Linked DNA regions of Homo sapiens: regions 1 and 3 are each linked to region 2. Evidence: promoter capture Hi-C in human tissues and cell types (Jung and others, 2019). All regions are on one chromosome and are shown on one strand. Each heading gives the region's core, a stretch centred on a gene start or on the middle of the fragment in contact. The rest is flanking DNA. Distances are from core to core; before and after follow the strand shown.

Region 1 (3,781 bases), core at 2-2,501, 720 kb before region 2:
ATTTTAGCAGAAAGTAGAGGATTCCCATAGGGACGTCTCCAGGACAACAACGGAACTGACAGATTACTCGGTAAGTCTGACTCTACTGAGAGTAATGTTAGAGTTCTGTCAATGGGCTTGGGTCATGAAGTAGTGAAGTATTGTATATGACAGAAAACTAAACGAATAAAAAAGAAGGAGAAATAGAAGAAATGTAATCATAGTGTATTACATGACCCAACTGTAGTAATTCTAGTACTAATTATTACCAAATAATTATTACTCTAACAAAAAGATATAATGAAACTATCAGGAGGATGAGGGAATTGTGTGAAGGGAATGGATGGGAGAAAGGAAAGCTAAATCCTTATTCTCTATAAATCAATAACGTGGGCTGGGCACAGTGGCTCACGCCTAGAATCCCAGCACTTTGGGAGGCTGAGGCAGGTGGATCACCTGAGGCCAGGAATTTGAGACCAACCTGGCCAACATGGCAAAACTCTGTCTCTATTAAAAATACAAAATATTAGCCGAGCATGGTGGCAGGCACCTGTAACCCCAGCTAGTCGGGAGGCTGAGGCAGGAGAATTTCTTGAACCCAGAAGGCAGAGGCTGCAGTGAGCCGAGATCATGCTATAAATATAATTTTTTAAAAAGCACTAAAATTAGGAACTTTAATTCATCTGAAATAATGGGTAAATTCCCACTTTACAAATTTTGTTATAGCAAATGTTGGCATATTTAATTTATTTACAAAAAAGAGTTATCTGGAATCTTTTAGTATTTCATCTCTATTAGCCTTCTTTGTGTATGGCCCTGTAGTTGCATTTCTCTGATTGTTTAGGGCTGTAACTTAAGAAACTACCCAGGTCTTACAGTTCCTCTGAACTCCACAGAAATGTCACCCAGTTGATGCTGTTCTACCCCAGTTGGCCACTACCCGGTCTTTGGAGTAATGCAAAGCCTACTGATGTGGCTTGCAGGCAGGAATTTTCCTGCACTATGGCCCCGGTTGGTAATGATCCTCCTTTGTAACTTGATTAATGAGTGTTATGTGTGATTAATGAGTGGGATGATGAAACATTAAACAGCTGAATACAATATTGAGTATCTGGCTGTTCAGAAGGTCACTTTTGGATATCAGCTAAAAATATTGGTGAAAAATATTCTATGCCTGCATAGCTGTCTAGGGACCTAGAAGGCCACCTACTTCTTTGCCTCTCAAAAAGTTATTCCAAAGTGTTGTCAGAAGAAAAGCATAATAGTATACAAAAGTAGCTCCAAAGTAGAACACTGGAGCTGTGAAATTTTTTCTCATCTTGTAGTTTATCTTTTAAAATTCATTTAAATTTTGCGTTCATATACATTTGTGTTTGTTAAATACATACTCTTCTAACAGCTAACATTTACTGAACATTTTATGGCTGTGCTGTGCCTAGTACTTTACATATAGTTTCTTAATCTTCACAGCTATTTTATAGGATAGATTTTATCCTTATTAGGTATAAAAGGAAACAGAAACACAGACAGGTTGAGTAATTTGCTGAAGACCACACAGCTAGTAAACAGTGGGAAAAGGAATTAAACATTACAGCATAGTTTCTAAGCATGCAGCCTTTGCTTTCTGACTCTTTGGAATCATTCAGTCTTTTATAACTGCCTTTCTTATCTATGGTTCCCAGTTTTTCATAAGGGGTATTAGGACTGCATTTTAAAAATCATGAATCCGTTTCATCTACTCTCGTTCGTTATGACAGAAACCAGTAGAATCAATGTCATCACTTTTAACAAATATTGATCAACAAATTATTGATTTGATTAAAAAACCTATAGGTGTTATATTCCTGGCATTAATACTATCAATGTATTTGTATCAATTTCCTGGAAGCCCTTAGTGGAGGGTCACTTTGGAAACAGTGGGCTGGATCTAGGTGTTCTTTTGCTCCATTGATAACACTCTCTACCAGCTAGGCACCAAATCACATGGACCAGGAGTCTTGCAATGTCAGATTCAGCAATGTGTGGCCTTCACCATTATGTTATATTGCTGACCACTCACATCTTTCTGTCCTCATATTTAACAATGCAATAGTCAGATTTAATGGCCATTTTCAAGCTTCATGTTTTAGATGTCCTTGGTGGTATGTACATTCCCATCTATTCCCATGGTATTGAACTTGTTATCTTTGCATTGATTGCTAGCCTACATTGTGGGGTTCCCTGAGTGAATATACCATACATTCTTGGCGCCCTCAATGTTGTGTGGTCACAGAGTACTCCTATGCACGTAAGGGCTCTTAACCAGGGAAACATCCTTTTGAGTTGAAAGGCTAATGGAATGGACTTCCCAGCCAGAATATCAAGGTTCTTTGACGCATTACAGCAAAAGTCCTTCTCTGGTGTTTCTTGATCAGGAAAACAATTTAAGGATGATTTGAACTCTTTTTCTAAAATTGTCTAAGCTCGATTGTCTAAGGCAGGGGTTTCTCAACCTCAGCACTATTGACATCTTGGGCCAGGGAGTCCTTTGTTTGGTGGGGACTGTCCTTTAAGTTGCAGGATATTTAGCAGCATCCTTGGCCTCCACCACTACATGCCAGTAACTGCCTACCCCCTACTGTTAGGACAAGCAGAAAAATGTCTCCAGACACTGTCAAATGTCTCCTGGAGGGACAAAATTGCACCCAGTTGAAAAAACACTGGTGTAAGGTAAATTCCAACATAAATTCCAATGAAAAAGTTCATAAAGTGTTATATTGAGTTTTATTTATTTCAGAATACTGTCCTCTAGCCTGACTTCAATATAAAGCTCATTTTGGCAATTTTTACATTTACTGTAAGATTAAAAGAAAGTATAGTAATCACTATATTTTTTCCTCTTTTTTCAATGCCTCCTGTTTTCTTAAAACCAGATGCTTCCAAAGCACAGACCCCCTCATGCACAGCTTCACCTCAAGCTCCAAGCTCACATATTCACCTGCATAACCACCATCTTCTCCTGATCATCCCCCAGGAACCTCAGCCCCGTGTTCCACACTGAACTCATTCTCTGACTCAACAAATCTCTTCTTTCCTCACTCCCAGCATAAAATTTGTTTCCAAAAATTTTTTATTTGATTTCCTAAATGGCTCTTGAGTCTGTCCTCTTGGCCTCCCCCTGGTTACATCCTCAGTTCAGACTCATTTCCCATCTGCACTGCAGCAGCGGACTCCTGACTGCCTCCAGTCCATCCTCCACACTGCTGCTCAAGCCAACTCTACAACACAAACCTATTATTTGACTTCCTTGAACACCCTCCAAATTCCCTTAGCAGGGCTTGTGAAGCCTTTTGTAAAGCATCCCTTGCTCTCCACCATATTATAACAATAAATTAGTGAATTCTATATTTGCTAATAGAATAAAGGCACTCTAAAAAGTTGAGGGACAAATTAAGTACATAAAATATTAAAACTTTATATATCCTATTATATTGAAGTAATCTTAGTGAGATGGACTTGAGTGTGTAAACTTCTCAGGTTTGAGTGCTTTTTAAATTAGGAAAGATTTGAAATGTCAGCACACACTATCAGGAGTGCCAAAAACATAATTATTTTCTCTATTAATGAATTTAATTTCCATTTTAGATTTAACTTCTTATTTTTCCAGGTAGAAAACTCTTAACCTCAACTGATTCAGCGCTTTCCTCCTGTGTTGCATCTCAGTTCTGAGACCTTAGTGAAGTCACGATAGAGTTTTTAGTGCAAACCATGACACTTTCTAGAGTGAGAAGTACTGCTGTTTAGCAATTAGGCTTGAGGCAAC
Region 2 (3,992 bases), core at 322-2,821:
TCCCAAAGGGTTGGCCAGCCCAAACTTTTGCCTTGGAAACCCAACTACCACCACTACCACAGCCTTGGCCTCTCTAAGGGCTTGGGAGCATTTGCAGTGGAAACACCACGGGTGGGCTGCAGTTCGGTGCCCCAGCAAGCAAACCTACAGTCTGAGTCTGGCCCAGCACAGGCTACACACACTTTATTCCATATCTGAGTCCAGATACCCCGGCTCTGAGAGGCTATTCTCATTGTAACCACCGCTTGCCTGGGGCTGAGGCTCGGCGCTGACCCGGCCATAACTGCCACGGGCTGGACAATGGGCACATCTGTCCTTTCTCTGAGGGATGAAAGCACCTAAGCGGACACGGCTCTGCCTTTTGTTGCGGATTTTTTTTCTTTCTTTTGTAAATGAAAGAAAGCCGCGGCATGTGGCGGCCGGGTGTACGTCTCAAACTGGGGGCCTCCGCACACGTCCCCACCAGGCCCAAAGACCAGGTTCGATTCCAGATTGGAGCGTGACTGTGGGAAGGGCGAAATTACTCCCGAAGCTGAATTGATTTTCAAATCTGGAGGCGTCTCTCGGGGACGCCGGGAAAAGGGCGTCCCTAGGGGCCAAGCGGAGACCCGCGCGCCGGCGTCCACCCTGTCTGCGTCAGTACTTCTGGAAAGCAACCGCCTCCGGGTGCTTTAGCAGGAGGGCCTTGGGAGTAACCGCAGGGACGGCCCGAGCCTCCACGGCCCCACCAGCACCCGGAAGTTAACATGGGTACCCTCCAGGGCACTCCCTCCGCTCTCCCTCGCCCCCCTCCACAGGCCGAGTCATCGGCGAAGCGGACGCACAGCCTTAATTATGAGCTGAGCGGGAGAAGGAGCCAGGCGGCGGGGGACAGTGAGGTATGGCCCGAACTGGGATTCTTGGCACTGATTACTCCTCTCCCCAGGGCATGGATGAGAAAGGGTGGGCAAGTATGTATCTGGGAGGACGAAGGGTGCCGGGTCAACGGCCGCCAAACGGACCCAGCCCTTTAAGCAATCTGCACCCCACCCCACCCCAACCCCCATCCCCCAATAGGCCGTGAATTCAAGGGTGGGAAAGCGCACTCCCAGCAGCCCCCCGGGAAATAAAGCTTAGTGGGCTAGAGCCGAAGGGGTGATGACACAGTCCCCAGCTCCCCGGGCAAGCTGCACCGGGAAGCAGCAACTGGAGAGAGAGGGGCGATGTCTCCAAGCACAGCACTCCAGCCGCTAGAAGCCCGACACGAGCGTCCCCGGGCTGGGAGGACAGAGCCCACTCAAGCAAGGGAGGCGAGCGAGCCAGGCGCGAGTCTCCTGGGATTGCAGCGGCGGCCCCAGGTCGCGCTCTGCGCCAATCTTTCGCACGTGCCCGCAGCTCCCTGGCCATCCAGCGCCGCAGGGAAGGCGCTGGGCCCCCTCCTTCATTTGTACCGGGACGCCAAGGGCCTGGCGCGCCGCGACCTAGGGGGCGGGGGCGGGCCTCGCGCATGCGCGCTGCGCCTGGCGGGCGTGAGGGCGGGCCGCTGCGGCGGCGGCGGCGGCGGCTACCGAACCGCGGCCACAGAGTCTGTAACAGTAACAGAGCCATGGCTCAAGCTGGCCAGCGGGGCGGGCAGGCAGCAGACGCGGCAGGCGCGCGGGCCGCGGCAGGGGAGCCGGAGACCTCAGAATTTTAAGAAAGAGAGGGGCGAGAGGTGGCCGAGGCGGGCGGGCTGGGGCACTGCGCTCTCCCAACGGCGCGGATCCTCTTTGGAAATTAATATTAAAAAAAAAAAAGCCGAGGACGCAGAGGGGAAGGTGGGGGGTAAGAGGGAAGGCGAGACACACACACACACACACACGCACACGCACACACGGACACACACACACGGAGAGAGAGAGAGAGAGAGACAGAGCCCCACAGTGAGAGGAAGGAAGGCAACAGTCGCCAGCAGCCGATGTGAAGACCGGACTCCGTGCGCCCCTCGCCGCCTCTGCCTGGCCACATCGATGTTGTGTCCGCCGCCTGCTCGCCCGGATCACGATGAACGCGCAGCTGACCATGGAAGCGATCGGCGAGCTGCACGGGGTGAGCCATGAGCCGGTGCCCGCCCCTGCCGACCTGCTGGGCGGCAGCCCCCACGCGCGCAGCTCCGTGGCGCACCGCGGCAGCCACCTGCCCCCCGCGCACCCGCGCTCCATGGGCATGGCGTCCCTGCTGGACGGCGGCAGCGGCGGCGGAGATTACCACCACCACCACCGGGCCCCTGAGCACAGCCTGGCCGGCCCCCTGCATCCCACCATGACCATGGCCTGCGAGACTCCCCCAGGTATGAGCATGCCCACCACCTACACCACCTTGACCCCTCTGCAGCCGCTGCCTCCCATCTCCACAGTCTCGGACAAGTTCCCCCACCATCACCACCACCACCATCACCACCACCACCCGCACCACCACCAGCGCCTGGCGGGCAACGTGAGCGGTAGCTTCACGCTCATGCGGGATGAGCGCGGGCTGGCCTCCATGAATAACCTCTATACCCCCTACCACAAGGACGTGGCCGGCATGGGCCAGAGCCTCTCGCCCCTCTCCAGCTCCGGTCTGGGCAGCATCCACAACTCCCAGCAAGGGCTCCCCCACTATGCCCACCCGGGGGCCGCCATGCCCACCGACAAGATGCTCACCCCCAACGGCTTCGAAGCCCACCACCCGGCCATGCTCGGCCGCCACGGGGAGCAGCACCTCACGCCCACCTCGGCCGGCATGGTGCCCATCAACGGCCTTCCTCCGCACCATCCCCACGCCCACCTGAACGCCCAGGGCCACGGGCAACTCCTGGGCACAGCCCGGGAGCCCAACCCTTCGGTGACCGGCGCGCAGGTCAGCAATGGAAGTAATTCAGGGCAGATGGAAGAGATCAATACCAAAGAGGTGGCGCAGCGTATCACCACCGAGCTCAAGCGCTACAGCATCCCACAGGCCATCTTCGCGCAGAGGGTGCTCTGCCGCTCCCAGGGGACCCTCTCGGACCTGCTGCGCAACCCCAAACCCTGGAGCAAACTCAAATCCGGCCGGGAGACCTTCCGGAGGATGTGGAAGTGGCTGCAGGAGCCGGAGTTCCAGCGCATGTCCGCGCTCCGCTTAGCAGGTGAGCCGGCCAAGGAGCTGGGCGCGCGGGAGATAAGGTACACGAAAGCCGAAGGGACCAAAGGAGGAAGGGTAGGAGAGAGGGCTGGGTGCGCTTCATCCCGCCCGCCCCTACCCCTAGAAGGGGGACTCCCTGTGCCTGGAAGGGCCAGCACAGGGCTGTGGGAGCAAATTGCCTACTCCAGGGCTCAGGGTGTTGGGCTGTGGAAGGCTCCGAGAGCTAAGCGGCCGGGCCTCGGCGACTGAAGAGGCTCATTTGCGCTCAGGGACAGCGAGGGAAGCTCGTACGGCCTGAGGCGGAGAGAAATCCCCGCACCTGGTGAGACACTCTGCGCCACCTCTCAGTTCAGCGATCCGGGTTTGGGAAGAGGGATGCAACGCGTGCGTGGAATCGCACGCAAATGTTCCTCGCAGGTACCTCTGACACATCCCAGGCGCTGGGCTGGAGCGTGCCGGAGCAGCGTCGATGTTTGGCCGAACTGGCTGCTGTGACCCCCTCCCGCGCTCATTCTTTTGGCGCTGGCTGGGGTGACCTCAATCTAAGAGTATGGGCAAAAAGTTTCAGAGCCATTGGGCGGTGGGTGTGTAGCACAGACGAGTTGTAAGGGTTAGGACGCTCTCTGCGCATGGAATTGGCTGTGGAAAGGAGAGGGAGGCTGACCGTCCCAAGGTCCCAGTGAGAGCTGCAAAGCAATAGCCATGTCCTGGGACCGACTCCGCTGCCGACTCCCTGAGGACTTTGCATTTTGTTTTATTATTCCTCTTCGCGATTTTCGTCTGAATCCCCGTGCGGGAGGGGGGTTTGGGGATGAGAGTGTGTAAATGACCCCCAAGTCTAGGAGCAGAGGTCTCCTGCCCGAAACCCC
Region 3 (3,575 bases), core at 944-3,443, 530 kb after region 2:
GTGAGCTCCTGGGCCTGGAGAGTGGCAGAGTTGCTCAGTGGCTGTGCAATCGCAAAATCGTCACAAGCTCTGAGACGGTGGTAAAACCCATGACCAGGCCTCAGGCTGTCAACGCCAGGGATGCACTGGCCAAAAAGATCTATGCTCACCTGTTCGACTTCATTGTGGAGAGAATTAACCAAGCGTTGCAGTTTTCAGGCAAGCAGCACACTTTTATTGGTGTTTTGGACATTTATGGGTAAGATTCTCTTCAGTGAGCCTGTCTTTCCTCCTTTAAATGTTGAGAGCCGCATGGTTTTTAGATCATTTTGTTCTGGTTCTTTTGTATTTCACATGATTAGAAAGATAACATTCTCTGCTTTTGCCCCTATAGATGCTAAGTACACTCTCCTGGGCTATGGTGCCATTTATTCAAAGTGCATTAAAGAGATGCTGAATTAGGAATGACCAATGTCAAGAGCTTACTGTGTGCCAGCTCTGAGGCTGCTTGGCTTCCATGGGCTTTCTCACTTAATTTCTTAAACAACCTTATAACTATCCCCGTTGTAGAGCTGCAACAACCAAGGCTTAGAAAGACTCAATAACTTCGTCACAATTGCTCCGCTGGTGGGAGAACCCAGCACAGTTGTGAGGCTCCTGCTTTTGCTTTTCCCACCAAAGGCCCCTGAGGTGTGGAGCCCCAAGGTCCCTTCCCATTCGAATCACAGGGGATGACAAGTCACCTAGGCTTGCACCTTGCCCAAGCCCAGCGGCCAGAGGTGGACTGAACCCAGGTCTCTGATCAACCACCCCCCTACCCCAATCCTTTTCCGTTCTTGGGTGAGAAGGTCTTGGATTTTCCCCAGCCCTCCTCCAGGAGGTCTTACCCTTCATCCCACCCTGGAGTTGGGTTCTTTTTCATTCTCTCTGCCTGGTCCTCCTTTTCTAAACCCCGGGCTCAGCTCGTGCTGAAACAGCTATGGAGTAACCAGAGTGGAAGCTGGCATGGAGGGCTCTGTGGAGATTGTTATCCTTCAGGCTTTTCTAGCAGCTGGCCCCAGTGCCCAGCCCTTGCCCCTCTCCTGGGACCCACCCTGGTTTCTTAACAGGAGAAGGGGAAGATTGACCCATGAAAGGCATCCTGGAGTGTTCCACCTGGATTGGGGGATCTTCCCCACACCATGGCAAAAAGCAGCTCAACCCCATTCCCCATGCAAAGGGGAGAGCTGAGCTCTGGCCTTCACGGCCCTGCTGCTGCCTCCTGGGGAGGAGGGGGACAGGGCCACACCACGCTGTTGGACTTGCACCCAGGTGGAGAGGCAGCTTTTCCCATAGCTGTCAAATGGGAGACAGTCAAGGGAGCTGCTTTGTTTAATTTAGATCCTAAGTTAATACATATGGCTCCCAATTAATAGTACGTGTCAACAGTTATAAAATGCTTAATACATTACTGGGATAGCCTAGTCAATTATTTACCTTGTCTTCTTCCCAGAAAGTGTTTGAGCAGCCAGTTAAAAGCTTAAGTGAACTTTTAAAAATGGATAGTCCTCATTAAAAATAGTCCTGTTTCATTGTGGTGGAAATACGTAATTATTCTGTTATTCCCTGTTCTTTTGGGTGTTTTTAAGATGTATTTTTAAATGACAGTCCTTTATTTTAACAGTATATTATTTCTTTCTTTTTTTTCTTTTTTTTTTTTTTGAGACGGAGTCTTGCTCTGTTGCCCAGGCTGGAGTGCAGTGGCACCATCTCGGCTCACTGCAACCTCTGCCTCCCAGGTTCAAGCGATTCTCCTGTCTCAGCCTCCTGGGTAGCTGGGACTACAGGCACCTGCCACTACGCCCGGCTGATTTTTTTTATTTTTAGTAGAGACTGGGTTTCACCGTATTAGCCAGGATGGTCTCGATCTCCTGACCTTGTGATCTGTCCATCTCGGCCTCCCAAAGTGCTGGGATTACAGGCGTGAGCCACTGCACCCAGCCATTATTTCATATTTTTATCTAACAGATGTTTATGTCCCAGGCACTGTGTTGGAGGCAGTGGTTGAACAGCATAGATGTACGGCTCCTGCCACCGTGGGACTGAGACTGGTGAGGGCAGCAGGCCGGCAGTAGAGGTTAGGATGAGTCCTGGGAAGGGAGGAAGGTGTGCTGGAGGTTAGCAGAGGGTGGGGACAGAGCAAGGGCAGCCATGTGCAAGGAGTAGTGAGCTGGACGGTGGCCCCCAGGCAGGATCCAGAACCACTGTAATAAGGAATTTGAATTTTTCAGCTATGTGGAAAAACCTGAGACAAGAGTATTTATAAATACACAAAGACTTGTTAGAGTAAATTATTTTAAGATTCCTCTCAAAAATTCTAACAATAGCCTGTTTGCTGCCACCCTTGAGTTCATGATACGCCTCCAAAAAAATCAGCTTTCCTCTAGGCAGCAGGGCTGCAGCCTGGGGCCAAGCCTTTCCCGCCCCCTCCAGCAGCCTCGCTTCTAGGCTAACCCTCGCCTAGGCATACCTGCAACTTTTGAGAAAGCTCTTTTTGACTTGGAAATAAGGAAGCCTCAAAGGAAGACTTAGCATCTTTGAAAGCCAGTAAAGCTGAAGCTGTGAGCTTCAAGGTCTAAGCTGAGAGTGAATGAAGGCTGGTGACTCCCCAGCCTGTCGTGTATTTATGTTCTTTGGACCCAGAGTTGGAAAAACCTGGGTCTGGGGGTCAGACCCCTGGGAATGAGCTCCGTAGCATACCAGTTACGTGACCTCAAGAAAGTCACAGAACCTCTCCAAGCCTTAGTTTCTGCATCTACAAGATGGGGCCTCTCTTGCAGGGTGATTTTGAACATATGATGGAAGAAATTATGCAGGTACCTTGAAAACCATAAGCATGGTTCCAGTGTGAAGTGTTTTCATAGCCAATGTGCCTCTAGCATTTTAAGTCACAGATCTAGGTCTTTCCATGGGTCCTAAACTTCAGATTTTTGTGCCCCAAAATAATGCATTGATGTTTGACATTTTGCCAGGTTCTAGAAAGCCCTGCCCTTGGCCCCAGCTGTGAGCTGCAGAGCTCAGTGAGACCCTTTTTAATCTTCCCCCAGGCCCAGCCCTGGCCTTGCTTCCATGAGCAGACCAGCCTCCGAATCTCTGAGCCACCAAGGCTGCGTGTGGAATGGGGCTGTCAGAGCTGCTATGAATCACCCTGGAGCTGTCTAGAGGACAGTCCAGGTTCTTACCCTGCCCAGGAATTCCAGATTGAGCCAAACCAGCTCAGTCAAGTGAGACTCCCAGGGGACCTGTGATAGGAGCCGGCAGGAACCTCTCAGGATTAGAGCGATTAAGAACAAAGCTTTGGAGGCACCAAGCACTGGGGTCGAATTGCATTTCTGGCACCACTTGCTGGCTGTTGGTCCTCACCATGGTCACTCCTTCTCTGACCCTCGTGTGTGACAGTGGAGTCACAGGAGCCCTTCACATAGGGCTGTGTTAGGGTTATAGGAGGTGACGTGCATAAATGCTGACACCTTAAAAGTGCTCAGCAAGCTGCCTTCCAGCAGGAGCTCATCTGGCCAGGTGGTAAATTTGGTGCCTCTGTTTTGTTCGGCCCACGT

What was found. The method cuts DNA at HindIII sites, captures the fragments that hold promoters and counts their contacts. A contact is called where the count stands out against the background at its distance.
Region 1: a contact is called between a fragment that was not itself captured here and the fragment with the promoter of ONECUT1 in region 2, in 1 of the 25 tissues and cell types used here (lymphoblastoid cells).
Region 3: a fragment that was not itself captured here is called in contact with the fragment with the promoter of ONECUT1 in region 2 in 1 of the 25 tissues and cell types used here (lymphoblastoid cells).

The regions. Positions count from the first base shown.
Region 1 is chr15:53,503,706-53,507,486 of GRCh38, reverse strand. The region is part of intron 1 of LOC105370826 (a long non-coding RNA gene); the gene reads right to left. Among named protein-coding and RNA genes, the nearest start is that of WDR72, 250 kb to the left of the region's middle. The HindIII fragment of the contact is 6,069 bases long and covers 1-3,781 here.
Region 2 is chr15:52,787,915-52,791,906 of GRCh38, reverse strand. It overlaps ONECUT1 (one cut homeobox 1), which reads left to right and starts at 1,571. Exons shown (of 2, transcript NM_004498.4): 1 at 1,571-3,127. The coding sequence starts at 2,023. It overlaps LOC105370824 (a long non-coding RNA gene), which reads right to left and starts at 1,477. Exons shown (of 2, transcript XR_001751550.2): 1 at 1-1,477. RefSeq lists enhancers at 1-515, 516-1,284, 1,281-1,575 and a silencer at 1,464-1,533. The HindIII fragment of the contact is 12,558 bases long and covers 1-3,992 here.
Region 3 is chr15:52,257,525-52,261,099 of GRCh38, reverse strand. MYO5C (myosin VC) reads left to right here. Exons shown (of 41, transcript NM_018728.4): 10 at 1-238. Among named protein-coding and RNA genes, the nearest start is that of MIR1266, 18 kb to the left of the region's middle. RefSeq lists enhancers at 325-900, 3,207-3,575. The HindIII fragment of the contact is 4,159 bases long and covers 114-3,575 here.